3 separate regions of the Homo sapiens genome follow, and all the other regions are linked to region 1. The links are contacts of gene promoters, found by promoter capture Hi-C in human tissues and cell types (Jung and others, 2019). All regions are on one chromosome and are shown on one strand. The core of a region is centred on a gene start or on the middle of the fragment in contact, and the rest is flanking DNA. Distances in the headings are between cores, read along the strand shown.

Region 1 (4,935 bases), core at 1,519-4,018:
TGGGGCTAAAATGCTACATATAACCAGGCAAGTCTCAATTTTGAAAATAAGCAGGTAAATGAAATGTCAGTTTTTTCTTTTTTTTCTTTTTTTTTTTTTTTGCTGCTGTATCTTTTAAAAAAGCAAAATCAACTCACATTTAAGCACCAACTCCATGCAAGTAACCTGAACGGTTCAGTCTTTTTGTCATGTATGTGGCCTTTGGTTCTCCAACTACATGGGATCTGTGTTGTTAGCTTAAAAAATACAGAATTGGCCTTTCAAAAAAAAATAATAATCTACAGCAACCAATAAATAGTCTCAAACAACCCTGCTGACTGCAGCTGCCTTCTGAAGGCTGGGAAAAGGAGGTGGAGATAGAGCAGAAAGAGGCAGGGAAAGGGGACGCTGCAGCTAGCTACATAGCAAGGAACACGCCCCCATCATGTCCTCCTTGCTCTGTCAGAAGGCGGGTTGTTGTCAGTCTCCTGATCAGGCTGCCTTAGAAACGATTAAAAAAAAGGAGGCAGGAAGACTAACAACTAAAAAATGCCAGCTCCTTGAAAGGAGGGGCCAGGGTCCTTGGGATCTCCTCCCTCCCCTTCTTCCCAGGATCTTTCCGTAAATCTAAAGGGGTGCGGGGCACAATAGGGGACAAGGGGTTTGCCCAGGATATTTTGTGTGCACCAACGGCAGAGCACGCAGGAAACGGCTGGTTGTTATCTTTCCCTTTCTGTTTCAATCAAGAGCACTCCAGAGCAGCAACCCCCTACCCCCCTTCGCTTCAGCCCCTAGCAGCTGCTCTTCCTCCTCCTAGCATCCCCCATGCCATCCTCCCCCCTCTACAATTCGAACTCCCCCCTTCTGCATCCAATGGAAAACAAATGCGCAACGCCACTGGCTGAACCTGAACTCAACTTCCCTTCCTTGGGCAACTTTCCTTTTTGCTGAAGGGGGCCGAATAATGTTTATAGAAGCAACTCCGTTCTTGCCCCAGTACTAATGGGGAAGGGGCAACGCTCTGACCCTTCATCCACCTTGGGTCCCCTTACAAGAATCAGAGACAACCCCAAGTCCTTTCTAAGGAATAACTTTGCTTGATAATCCTTTTTCTCCCATCCCAAAGCAACCACCGCCACCACACTAAAGTATAACTGTCCCTTATCTACTCTCCTCACCCCAACCTGGCTTCCCCCACCCCTTCCAAGCCCCAGGATTGGCCTAGGAAAAGGTGGATCAATAATGAAATGACGAGAAGAGAAGGGCGGGAGGGAGCTCGGGTTGGAGACTGCGTGCTCTCAGGCGCAGTGGGTGGGGTAGGAGAGCAGCTGCTTCCCCTGGGAGGATGCTGCCTCAGTCCCCCAACAAACACCTCCCCTCACAGGGGCCCCCTTCCCCAGAGCTGGAGGGAAAGCCTGCCTCCTCTCCAAGGGGAGTGGTGGAAAGCTGCTCTTCTCTAAGCCTAGGGGACAGTGGACTATTTTCCCCTCCAAGATGCCACTAATCCTTCATTCTAAAGGAGGGAAAGGGTGGAGTGAAGGTAGAGTAATTCCCGGCTACCAATAGGCTAGAAACTGTAGCCCTGTAAGACGGGGCGGGGGGGGGAAGAGACTGCTGTATGAGGAATCACCGTTATCTTCAGAGGGAAAGGAGGTGAGACCAGGCAAGGTGCAGAGGAGAGATTTTCCCCGGTGGGGTAGGGCGGGATGGGGGAGGATCGGTCTGCTTGGGGTGGGGGTAGAGGGTGGAGGTGAAGGAAGGGGGAGTGGCTGGCAGTATAGGGACCTGGCCCGGGGATGGCGCGAGGGTTCATCGGGTTTTCGAAAGCAAGGTGCTGGAAGGGACACGATCCCCAAGGGCCAGGAGAACGTGGCCCTGGATGAGGCCATCACCCGAGAGACGCCCGAGAGGAAAACTGCCCTAGGAGTAACACATCTGCCCAGAGAGGGAGGCGGGGATGTGGCGGGATCAGGTCTCTAGGAGGGAGGGAGGGAGGAATCTTGCTCGGATGAGGTAATCTGTGAAAGGGAGGAGGGGTTCAGTCCCGGGATGGGAAACCCCGGCGAGGGGGTCTGTGCCAAGGGATTTGGGGAAGGGTCAGGGGGAGGAGAGCGGGGGGCAAACGCCCTCAGCCAGATGGGCCCAAACCCCGGGGTGGGGGCGCCTGGGGGTCTGCAGCCCTGCATGGGGGTCCCAAGATGGGAGAGCCATTCGCCCCGGGTCAGGGACCCCGAGATGGTCCCAGAATTGGGATGCTCCTCAATCCCGGATGGGGGAGGGGAGGGGGCTCCGCAGAGGGTCGAGACCCCGGACCTGGGGGTTCCTCGCCCCCTTACCTCTCCGCTGCCGCCTCCCCCGCCGCTCTCCCCAAACACGGCCCGGAACCGGCGCAGGTTGGTGCCGATGGCGGCCGAGACCTGCAGCGCCGCGTCGAAGCCCGGGCCCACCCGGAGCAGGGCCGGCCCTGAAGAGGCTGAGGACGATGACGAAGACGAAGACGAGGCGGACGACGAGGAGGCTGCTGAGGCGGCGGCCGCTCCCCCTGGAACCCCAGCCCCGCTGCTTCCCGCCGCCGCCGCCGCGGCCGCCACAGCCGGGGGGGAGGGGGGCGCCCCGGGGCCGCCACCGCCGACCGGGGGCCCGGGGGGAAGCAGCAGGGCCGGGACGCGTTGCCGCGGGGCGCCCCCTAGGCCCCGGCGCCCCCCGCCGCCGCCGCCCCCGGTGGTCCCGGGTCGGGCGGGGAAGCGCCACCGACAGCTGTGCGCCATGTTCGCCCCGTGAAGTGAAGCAGCGAGAGGGAGAGGCGACAACACAGGGGGGCGGGGAGGCGGAGGGGGGGGCACGGGGCCCCGGAACCTGCCTAACCAGCTCTGCGCCGCCCGGCCGCCTGCACCCTGCCGGCCGCTATGCAGAGCGCCGGGCCGCGCCCGCCAGCCCCGCAATCTGTATAGCGGCCTCGGGCCTCCGCCTCTGACGCCTGGGCGCTGCAACTCCATCCCGAGGCCCGGGCCGCCGCCTCCTGCCCGCCCGCCGGCCCCGCAACCTGGATAACTGCATGCCCCGCCCTCCGGGAGAGGCATTGCTCGGGAAAAGGAGGGGGGAAGGAAGCCCGGGAGCCCGGAGCAGAGCGCGGGTTCCGGAGAGAGGGGGAGGGGGCGAGGACTACGCGGAGGATGGAGGCGTAGGGAGCCGGGCCGCCTGCAGCCTTGAGCGCCGAGAGGCCGATTACACACGTTCCCGGGACGCGCTGGGAATCGAACAGCCCGGGAGAGCAGCTTCCAGTATAACGCGGCGGCTGGGTCGGGGAGCAGTGAGCCTTCTCCTCCGCCCCAGGGCACGGATACAAGATGGGTTAGCCCGAATTGAACGCTTCTAGAATAAAAGAGCCCTTATTGTACTACATGCAAAACAGAAGCGCTGCCCAGTTTACTATATGCAAAACAGAAAGGCCCTCAATGAACGCACTTTAAAAAATAAAAAAGGAGCCCCTCCCATTTTCATGCTGGAGCTCTTTCCAAAAAGCACACACCGAGTGGCAGGTCTCCTGCCACCTCCTCGCTCTACTGTGCACTCGTCTGGCTTTCGTGCCCTTCTGCAGGGAGTTGGGTTGTGTTTCTCCAGCCCGGGCACTGAGGCCACGGCGTGCTCCGCTAACGACGCGGTGTTACAACGAAGCTGAAGCTGGGTGGCTAACGGGGCCTGGAGGGAAGAGGCGGGCAAAAGCGCCCCCGCCCCTTCTTCCTCCGGTCTCTGCCTGCCGCTGCATGCAAAGCAGACCCTAATGTATGCACGCAGAGGGAGGGGGGCTCGCGAGCACGTTTCTGATTAAGAGAGGGGGAGGAGGAGAGCGTTGGGCATTATGATACACTGGGTGGAAGGGGCCCGCCGGCGGCGAGCTCTGTGCGCGGGGTTAGTAAGCTGAGGGGGGAGGGGGAAAGAAGGAGGCGAGTTAGGGAGGGGAATGAATATCCACCGGGTTTACTTTATTGCGGGAAAGAGGGGAGGGCGCCTCGAGCATAGCGTTAGACGCCTGCAAGGCTGGGAAAGCCGAGAGGGTAGGGAGGGGTTTGTGTCGGGAGAACTTGCGTTGGCTGAGGCTGGGGGATCGATACACAGCCTGCAGGCCCCGGGGCAGCCTCCATCCCCCAAGCCGAGGGGGAGTTCGCTGGAAGGTCATGCAGCCTTCCTGGACTCCCGCACCGGTACAGCGCACTGCATGTAATATTACAGCCTGGGGCGGCGAATTTGGGAAGGAGGGAGAGGGTCGTTGTGAGCAGGTTGCACTCAGCTCTGGCCCTCCGGAGGGTGCACTTCACGCCTCCAGAGAAGGTCCACAGCCTCCTGGTGCTGAAAACCTACGTCCCTCCACTGGCGAAACATTTGTGCAGAGCGGACGATGGGATGGGGGCTGGAGAGGAGCAATGAAAGGGAGGAGACACAGGCAAGCCTCAACTCCCCCAACTCGTCCCGAATCGATCTTCGTTCCAACCGCGCAGGATGGGGCCCAGATGGTTTGCAAAGCGCACACTCGCACAACGCAATACACAGAACAAGATTCCGTTGTTACAGCGCGTGGTTTACTAGATGCTAAAAGGGTGGGAGTAGCAGGAGGGTCTTAAACGGCAGCCCCAAGGCTCTGCTAAGGACAGAGACACCCCATTGTGGACGGTTTCTCCATTGCAATATATTTAGCGTTGGGCGCTGGGGTTTTTGCTTCAGTGTAGCTGCTCTGATCAGTTACAGATTGGCGACCACGTGGATTCCCTCAAGCATCCTGATTTGTTCGTTCTCTCTCTCTCTCTCTCTCTTTCTCTCTCTCTCTCGTCTCTCTTATTTTTCTTTTGTATTTGCCGCCCCCCCTTCTTTAATATGCATAACGGTCTGCAGAGGTAATAGGCAGGGGACTGAATGACAGGCTTTATATAACTGTGTCAACAGATTTCTTCCCGCCTTCTA
Region 2 (4,901 bases), core at 1,696-4,195, 630 kb after region 1:
GGCTTGGAGAAACAGTATAAACCGGCAGTGTAAACAAGAGCAGGGCATGTATGAGTAGTTGAGAACGGTGAATAGGAGTATGACTAGACAGAAGATAGTAGGGATGACAAGTTTTTTGGGGCACAGTCGAAGTTGGTCTGGTGTCTGGAATGAGACTGGGGCCTAATAAAAAGGAGCATCTATACAGGAGGTTAAATGGGCTGTACCTTGTAGCATTCTGAGGACATGTCTGACTTCTGAGAAGGGAAAGTGGTAAAAGTATTGTCCAGTCCTTTTTAAGTTGGTGGCTGAGCTTGGTGAGGTGTGTTTTTAATAGACCATTAGTCTGTCACTGAATACTAAGAGCCTGAAAAAATGCTTGGCTGATTTGACTAATAAAGGCTGGTCTGTTATCAGACTGTATAGAGGTGGGAAGGCTAAACTGAGGAATTATGTCTGACAGAAGGGAAGAAATGACTGTGGTGGCCTTCTCAGACCTTGTAGGAAAGGCCTCTAAAAGTATTAAAGCAGTGGCAGCCGCTGCACGCAGACATGAGGGCTAGGCTAAAACAGTAAGGTCAAGTTGTTTGCACAGAAAGGCTACAGTGTGCGGTCCTGGCTCTTGTGTAAGAATTTTGACTGCACTAACCATGCCTAGGAAGGAAAGGAGTTGTTGTTTTGTAAAGGATTGAGGTTTGGGAGATTAGTCGGACACGATCAGCAGGAAGAGCACGTGTGTTTTTACGAGAATTATGCCGAGATAGGTAACAGATGAGGATGAAATTTGGGCTTGACTGAAGTAATGGGGGCTGTCTGTGAAGCCTTGTGGCAGTACAGCCCAGGTAATTTGCTGAGCCTGATGGGTGTCAGGGTCAGTCCAAGTGAAGCGAAGAGAGGCTGGGATGACGGGTGCAAAGGAATAGTAAAGAAAGCACGTTTGAGATCCAGAACAGAATAATGGATTGTGGAGGGAGGTATTGCGGATAGGAGAGTATATGGGTTTGGCACCATGGGGTGGATAGGCAAAACAATTTGGTTGATAAGGCATAGATCCTGAACTAACTTGTAAGGCTTGTCTGGTTTTAGGACAGGTAAAATGGGGGAATTGTAAGGAGAGTTTATAGGCTTTAAAAGGCCATGCTGTAGCAGGCGAGTGATAACAGGCATTAATCCTTTCAAAGCTTGCTGTGGGATGGGATATTGGCATTGAGTGGGGTAAGGGTGATTAGGTTTTAATGAGATGGTAAGGGGTGCATGATTGGTCGCCAAGGAGGGAGTAGAGGTCTCTTGTGGGTTAAGGTGGGGGAATACAAGAGGAGGACGCAAAGGAGGCTTTGGATTGGGAAGAAGGGCAGCAATGAGATGCAGCTGTAATCCAGGAATAGTCAGGGAAGCAGATAATTTGGTTAAAATATCTCGGCCTAATAAGGGAACTGGGCAGGTGGAGATAACTAAAAAAGAGTGCATAAAAGAGTGTTGTCTAAGTTGGCACCAGAGTTGGGGAGTTTTAAGAGGTTTAGAAGTCTGGCTGTCAATACGCACAGCAGTTATGGAGGCAAGGGAAACAGGCCTTTGAAAAGAAGGTAATGTGGAGTGGGTAGCCTCCGTATTGATTAAGAAGGGGATGGACTTACACTCCACTGTGAGAGTTACTTAAAGCTCGGCATCCGCGATGGTCTACGGGGCTTCCAAGGCAATCAGGCAGCCTCAGTCTTCAGCTGCTAAGCCGAGAAGGAGTCAGTCAGGGAGCCTTGGGCCAGAGTTCCAGGGGCTCTGGGAGTGGCTGCCAGGTGAGTTGAACAGTCCGATTTCCAGTGGGGTCCCGCGCAGATGGGACACGGCTTAGGAGGAATCCTGGGCTGCAGGCATTCCTTGGCCTGGTGTCCAGATTTCTAGCACTTGTAGTAAGCTCCTGGGGGAGGAGGTTCTGGAGGAACGCCTGGCCGCTGCAGTTCAGGCGTTTGGAAGTTCTTGTGTGCTGGAGATGTAGCTGGGGTTTGTCTCACAGTGGAGGTAAGGAATTGCAACTTTTTTTATTATTGTACACCTTGAAGGTGAGGTTAATTAAGTCCTGTTGTGGGGTTTGAGGGCCAGATTCTAATTTTTGGAGTTTTATTTAATGTCGGGAGCAGATTGGGTAATAAAATGTATATTGAGAATAAGATGGCCTTTTGACCTTTTAGGGTCTAGGGCTGTAAAGCTTCTCAGGGTTGCTGCCGAACGAGCCATGAACTCGGCTGGGGTTTTATATTTGATGAAAAAGAGCCTAAACGCTATCTGATTTGGGATAAAGAAAAAGGAGCATTAACCTTGACTATGCCTTTAGCTCCAGCCACCTTTTTAAGAGTAAATTGCTGGGCAGGTGGGGGAGGGCTAGTCACAGAACGAAACTGTAAGTCAGACCGGGTGTGAGGAGGAGAGGCGATAAAAAGATTACAGGGTGGAGGAGCGGAGGCTGAGGAAGAAATGGGACCTAGCTTGGTCTGGCGAGGAGGGGAGAGGTCAGATGGGTCTGTAGAAAAGGAAGATTAGAAAGACTCAGCGACGCTTGGGGTTGGGACTGAGGGGACAGGCGGGAGGGAAAGAAGGAAGATTTGGGACGAGTTGCACTGGGCACAGAGACTAGGAAGGGACTGATGTGTAAAAGAATGCGTGGACGTCAGGCACCTCAGATCATTTGCCCATTTTACGACAAGAATTATTTAGCTCTTGTAGGATGGAAAAATTGAAAGAGCTGTTTTCCGGCTATTTGGAACTACTGTCGAGTTTGTATTGGGGTCAAGCGGCATTGCAGAAGAAAATAAGACACTTTGATTTTAGGTCAGGTGAGAGTTGAAGAGGTTTTAAGTTCTTAAGGATACAGGCTAAGGGAGAAGAAGGAGGAATGGAAGGTGGAAGCTTGCCCATAGTGAAGGAGGCAAGCCTAGAGAAAAGAGTAGAGATACGGAGAAGGGGGTGGGGGTTTCTTGCCCTCCAGAAAAGCAGAGAAAGGGTTGGGGCACGGAAATAAGGGATTGGGGCACAGAGATAAGAGGTCGGGGTGCGGAAATAAGGGATTGGGACACAGAGATAAGAGGTCGGGGTGCGGAAATAAGGGATTGGGGGTTCTTGCCCCCTAGAAAAGCGGGACTTGCCACTAAGGGTGAAGGAGAAGGGGTTGAGGGGTACTTGCCCCTCCCCCAGAGGGCGCTGGAGTTTTGAGTCCACGGAGTTTTGGGTCCACGGAGTTTGGGTCCACGGAGTTTTGGGTCCACGTGTCTCCTTTGTCTCTATCAGAAAATGAAAGGAATTGAAATTAAGAGAAGGGAGAGATTGAAGTGTGGCGCCAAGATTGAAATGTGAATATGTATGTATGTGAATGTGTGTATGTGTGTGCGAATGTGTAAGTGAGTGTGTGAATGTGTGTGAGTGTGAATGTGTGTGAAAATATTTGAATATGTGTGAGTGTGGGAATGTGTGTATGTGAATGTGTGTATGAGTGTGTGTGAATGTGTGAGTGTGTGAATGTGTGTATGTGAATATGCGTGTGTGTGAATGTGTGAATGTGTGTGTGAGTGTGTGGGTGTGTGTGTGTAAGAGTATGTGAATGTGTAAGTGAGTGTGAGTGTGTATGTGACTGTGTGAGTTTGTGTGTGTTGTGCGTTGCTAGTTGAGCTGGAACTGGGGAGGAGCAGAGCAACCCAGGAGGGTTGCGTGGGTGGACCTAGCATCTGGAGCGCTGCGCGGCGATTCAGCCTCCTCAGCTGAGAATCAGAGGTCTGTTTTGGAGGACACCATTGGTCCCCTCCAGTAGTTCTTAGAGGCTGGCAAGGACACAGGCTGGGGCAGGGAGTGAGCCCAGCCTCCGGCTTCACTGCGAGACATGACTGGGGTGAAGGGCAGGACCTGTGTAGTGGAGAATTTGAGTGGCCGCCGTCTATGTTGTACTGCACAGCAGCCTGCGGCGCCACCATCCTGTCCTGTGGCACTAGGGGGAGGCAGACACCAGGTTCCCAGTGCGGAGGCCTGGAGCTTCCTTCCGCGGAGGACCGCAGAGACACATCCAGTAGTGGGCCAGGGAGGCGGGTTGTCCTCTCCAGCCATCAGAGCCACGCCCAAGGAGTCAGGCACAGCGGGGAGGAGGGCTCCCCTCCCTTCCCACAGCTCCCACCCTTCCCACACTGCACTTTCCAGGAGTGCAGACGCGGCAGCTGGCCTCCCAGGACCTGCCCCACCCTGGAGGTCTGCACTGAGCCCCTTCGCCAAATGAGGCAAGACTTCTCCTGAGCCTGGGGTCTCAGGGCAAACTCCTGAGGTCGCCTCTCCTAAATCTGAGGCATTCCCAACGGATCTGGAAGATTCATTCTCTCTGGATGGATTTTTCCTCCTCTCAAGCTTCGCAGTGGAAATGATATGAAGCAGGGGCGGGGCAGTGACGGAGCTGCTAGAGCAGGGTAGACAGGCGTGGGCGTGAGCTTGGCTCGGTCACTGACCACCTGGGCAGCCCTGGGGAAGTCCTTTAGTGTCTCGGAGCCTCAGTTTTCTCATCTGTGAGATGGGGTTTGTGATATCCAACTCATTAAAGAGATTGAACGAGATCATGTGTGTAAATGAGATATGTACGCCACAAAGTGCTGCGAACATGTAAAGTGGGTGAGGGATGAAGCAGTGTTCACCAAGGCTTCTGCTGGGCTGGGTGATTGCGTGTTTTTCAGCCATTTATTATTCAGCAAATTTTTGTTGACTATCAAGTATGTGCCAGACACTGTATTAGTGTTTTTGACAAGCTTAAGTGGATAGTGTTTATGAAACTACAGAACATAAACCTTCTAGTTTATCTTCTAGTTCAGGATTTCCCAAATGCCAGCCCCAAGACCTATGCTAAGCTTCTTACATCCAAATACTGGGAAACAGAAAATACAGATCCCGGATTCTGTAGTCTG
Region 3 (4,886 bases), core at 938-3,437, 770 kb before region 1:
CCCAGCTACTCGGGAGGCTGAGGCACGAGAATGTCTTGAACCCAGGAGGCGGAGGTTGCAGTGAGTCGAGATCGCACCATGCACTCCAGCCTGGGTAACAAGAGCGAAAAACTCCGTCTCAAAAAAAAAAAAAGAATACAGAATACAGAAACTCTTTAGTAAACAGATTATTCTTAAGCAGAGGCCACTAATCAACACAATTTTGATTGTACTGCACCCACATGTCTGATACGAGACACTCATTAGAAAAGTATTTTTTCTATGCCAGAGTAAAATTTGTAGTCCTTAACGATAAATCCCTAAAAAGCAAACTAACAAACTTTAGCATTTGAATATCTTCGATGTGTTTTTTTTAAAGGAGTCGACACATTTAAAGTTTCCTTTACACACCTAAACTTTCTGTAAGGATTTTATTATAATTTCTAACAATAAAATTAGTACTACACCACCAATATAATCAACACACGAATACTTGTGTCATTAATTACAATACCAATTATTTAACATGAGAAAAGCCAGCCCTAAAAAGGTGGCTATGAAACCACTGGCATGCACTACTGGAGTGTTAATTCACACACAGGACTTATTAAGCATTTAAATTGCACATTACATTGGCTAAGTGCTTCATAATCATTTTATTAGCGGTTTCTAGTCCAAAGCAACCCATGAAGAACTTTACAGAAGAGGAACCGAGGCCCAGGGAGGAACCAAAGAAAACCAAATTTTACCCTGGAGGAAATAACACCATTCTCTTAAAACGTGCCAGATACTTCTAATCACTTTTCATACGCAATATGAATTTTGTCAAAGTAATTAATTAAAGAATATGAAAAATACCAAGAAAACGTATTGAATTCTGACAAAGCGTCCGACTGCTTAAACAGTTAAATACTTGAGACTGACTACATTTCATCATATAGACACAACTATAAGGAAGTAAAATTCTCCCAAATGACAAACTTAGTGGCTAAATATAAAGGAGTTATTTTTGTTCGCACTTGCAAAAAGCAAACAAACAAAAAAGCGTAATCAAAGAAGCTCAACGAACAAGTTTAAAGTCAGGACCTGTAATAAGGAGTCAGAACCGTTACCAGAAAAAAAGAACCCAGCTCAAGCGATGTAGTAGGGAGGAAGTTATTAAGAAGTCAGAATCTGCTGCTGCTTAACAGGCTCAGCCAGTCCATCTTTCAGAAGATAATAGTTCTAACCAGAACTTGTGGTTTAATCAGTGCATATCTCAGCACCAGCAATGGATCACATCCAGTGTTTCTGAGGGTAACAAAAAACTTGAGCCGGCGCTAGATGGGGAGGAAAGTTCTTTCCTTGCCTCACTTAAACATCAATATGTCTTTTATCTTCGTGTTACATCTTAATGAGAAAGGACTATACTCTCACCCAGAGCACAGCTTCCCTGAGAGCTGTCCTGACCCCAGCCAGGTTCCTCAGTCAGAGCCCATGAACCTAATTCCCTAGTCAGATCTCACCCAGCCAAGAGCCCCAGCCGGTACATCACTCTTCCTCACCCCCTCCCTGCTAACCTCCCAGGCCAATTCCGTGACCTACATCCCTACACCCTGCACAGAGCCCCAAACTCCGCACCCCTCATTGTACTTCCGCCCCACTGACTTCCCAGTTAACCTTCGCCCCAGCCCCCACTCCATCTTTGTCTGGCTACCCCAAACGCGGCACCCCAGCGTTCCCCGACTCCCAACGGCAGCCCCTCCCCCACGCCGCCCCCCACCCTCCCGGCCTCGTCCCTGCCCCCACGCCCCCGGCCGGTCACCCCGGCTCCGCGCCTCCCCGGCTTCACCAGACCCGTCCCCTCCCCCGCTTCCTCCGTCCGCTCGTTCCCCTCCCCGCGGCCCTCCGCCCACGCCCACCCTGCAACAGCGGGCGCTCAGCCGGCCTTTCACCTTGTCCATGAGCTTCCAGCACTTCTCCACCATCTTCTTGTCCACCGTCCCCGGCGGGTGGGGGCTGAGGTGGTGGTGGTGGTGGTGGTGCGGCTGGAAGGCGTCCTTCATGAGCCCAATCAGGCCACCCGAACCCGAGCCCCCGGAGCCGCTGCCGCCCCCGGCCCCAGAGCTCTTCTTCACGTTGCCGGCCATGGCCTGGGCAGGGTCGGAGCCCAGGCGGGTCCGCCGGCTCGGCTCGACTGCGAGCGAGGGAGAGAAGCAGGGCGTGAAGGAGGGGCCTCTCCCGGCCGCCGCCGCCGCCGCCGCCGCCGCCGCCGCCGGCTATCCGGGCGGAGGGAGGAGCGGCCGTGGGGAGGGGAGTGGGCGGCGCCGGGAGTGCGCGGGACGCGCCCCTTCAGAGCGCGCGAGCCCGGGGCGGGCGGGGCGCGTCCCGGAGGCGGACCGGCTTACTGGTAAGCTCGGGGAAGCGGCCGGCCGCGGCCGGACTGGGCAGCGACGATCCCCGGGCCACCGGCTTCGAGCAGCTCGCGTGCCCACAGCTCCCGGAAAGCCGCGGCCAGGTTTCTGTGCCCGTCTTCCCCGCCCCTACGCCGGGGCGGGGCGGGGCCAGGCTGGGGCGGGGTCGGCGGAACCTTTGGGCCTGCGCCCTCTGCTGGAGAAACGGGGAAAGGAGCGGCGGGGGGTTGGGGAGTAGGTCCAAGGTGGAGTCTGCGCAGTAGCCAGAAACCAAGACTTCCATGCTCCTTGTGGGCGGGAGGTTGGCGCTTCTGGGGTGGGTCATGGGAATGTTTAAATTAAGACAGGTGGCGATGGAATGGAAGAGTCCTGATGTCAAGTCTTTCCCCACCCCTGACAAATGAGGAAATCGAGCTTAGAGTTATTTGTTTATTTACACTGTGGGAGGATGGTGGGAGAAAAAGGAAAGTTATTTCTCCACCCCTTATTATTTTCAATTCTTCATTAAGACACGACCAAGGACAGGAATATGAATGCTGCGGCCCATTCCAGCCGGATTAGGCCCCAGAAAGCCTTGAGACACTCAAGCCAGGACCTCTTCTTCCAGGCCCTTTGACCTCTTGAAAAGAAATCACTTCCTTTTTTTATTTTTTATTTTTATTTTTTTGGCTTGTGAAGACTAGTTACGTTTCTGGGAATTGAATCTCAAACATGTATTTAAGATTCTCCTACTCAGAGCATTGCACCACAGGTCGGCGCCGCCAGCATGAGGGCCCCCTCAGAAGCTGACCTGCTGCTGGCTCCGCCCGAGGGGGTTCTCTCTCCCGCCCAGGGAACAGAAATGCTGTTCCTGGTCACTTCCACTTCTCAGTCAATTACACTTCTCTAATGTAAAAGTTCCGTTGGAAGAACTTTGAAAATAGGAACTTCCCTTCCAAAGAGGGAAGTGCCCTGCCCTAATTTACTAATTCTGAGCCTCAGTTTTGGGAGTTTGCAGACCCAGGTGTGTCAGTATCAGTTCCGCCTTCGATCCCCCTCCAGGCTCTTCCACAAAGCCCTTGACAGATTAGGGAGTTAAATTTATCCGGTGCTCCTGTAAAGGGGAAAATATCTTTGAATGCAGGGACCATTCAGACAGGCATCCTGGGTTTGCAATTTAATCGCCTTTATCTAGAATTGATTTTGGAGTCAACATTATAATTTACTATCAGAAGAATTTCCTTTTATCATTTTCCATCCAGGAAGAGAAGAATCTACAAAGGGAAAATCTAGGCAAAGCTCCATCCCTTAGTGCCAACACCTAGTTGCAGGTCCTCCGTTTCTTTTCCCTGGACTATTGAATATTGAAACCTTTTCCTGTGCCTTCAATTCATCCTGCCACCATAGGCTTCCTAAAGTATAGTTCAGACAGCATCGCAAAAAAACTTTAAACACCTCCCATTGCCTCGGGAATAAAATTGACAAGTTGCTCTAACTCCAAGCTAAACAACCTTGTAGTTTTATACTACTCCCTGGTACACATGTCTTATGCTAGCTGACTCACCAAGTCATCAAATACAATTATTTCTTTTTTATTTATTTATTTATTTTATTTTATTTTGAGACAGAGTCTGTCACCCAGGCTGGAGTGCAGTGGCACAATCTTGGCTCACTGCAACTTCTGCCCCCCGAGTAGCTGGGATTACAAGTGCCCGCCACCACACCTGACTAATTTTTGTATTTTTAGTAAAGATGAGATTTCACCATGTTGGCCAAGCTGGTCTTCAACTCCTGACCTGAGGGGATCTGCCCTCCTCAGCCTCCCAAAGTGCTGAGATCATGGGTGTGAGCCACCGCACCTGGCCAATTCTTTCTTTTCTCATCACCGTTACTCAGACTATTCCCTTATTCCATCTGCCTGAAGTATGCTTTAAAATCCAATCCATTCGGCCCAGCACAGTGGCTCACACCTGTAATCCCAGCACTTTGTGAGGCCGAGGGAGGCGGATCACCTCAGGTCAGGAGTTGGAGACCAGCTTGGCCAACATGGTGAAATCTTGTCTTTACTAAAAATAAAAAAATGAGGCCGGGCGTGGTGGCTCACGCCTGTAATCCCAGCACTTTGGGAGGCCGAGGCAGGTGGGACACGAGGTCAGGAGATCGAGACCATCCTTGGCCAACATGGTGAGACCCCATCTCTACTAAAAATACAAAAAAAATAGCTGGGTGTGGTGGCGCACGCCTGTAATCCCAGCTACTCAGGAGGCTGAGGCAGGAGAATCGCTTGAACCCAGGAGCCAGAAGTTGCAGTGAGCCCAGATTGTGCCACTGCACTCTAGGCTGAGCGACAAGAGTGAGACTCTGTCTCAAAAACATAAATAAACAAATAAATAAATAAAGTTAATAAGAAAAGGAAGATTACCCTTTTTTTTACCTTTTTTTTTTCTTTGAAACAGAGTCTCGCTCTGTCACCCAGGCTGGAGTACAGTGGTGCAATCTTGGCTCACTGCAACCTCCACTTCGGGTTCAAGCCAT

The links. Contacts are between HindIII fragments. The study calls those that stand out against the background at their distance.
Region 2: a fragment that was not itself captured here is called in contact with the fragment with the promoter of KMT2A in region 1 in 1 of the 25 tissues and cell types used here (hippocampus).
Region 3: the fragment with the promoter of CBL here is called in contact with the fragment with the promoter of KMT2A in region 1 in 1 of the 25 tissues and cell types used here (small bowel).

Annotation. Positions count from the first base shown.
Region 1 is chr11:118,434,325-118,439,259 of GRCh38, reverse strand. KMT2A (lysine methyltransferase 2A) reads right to left here and starts at 2,768. Exons shown (of 36, transcript NM_001197104.2): 1 at 2,316-2,768. The coding sequence starts at 2,747. RefSeq lists enhancers at 802-1,799, 1,800-2,798, 3,460-3,599, 2,799-3,796 and a silencer at 2,670-3,149. The HindIII fragment of the contact is 10,858 bases long and covers 1-4,935 here.
Region 2 is chr11:117,808,535-117,813,435 of GRCh38, reverse strand. It overlaps a transcript of DSCAML1 not described here. Among named protein-coding and RNA genes, the nearest start is that of FXYD2, 14 kb to the left of the region's middle. RefSeq lists enhancers at 3,861-3,910, 3,961-4,030. The HindIII fragment of the contact is 6,582 bases long and covers 1-4,901 here.
Region 3 is chr11:119,203,640-119,208,525 of GRCh38, reverse strand. It overlaps CBL (Cbl proto-oncogene), which reads right to left and starts at 2,187. Exons shown (of 16, transcript NM_005188.4): 1 at 1,914-2,187. The coding sequence starts at 2,108. RefSeq lists silencers at 1,670-1,729, 1,920-2,109, 2,180-2,569, 2,610-2,679. The HindIII fragment of the contact is 26,271 bases long and covers 1-4,886 here.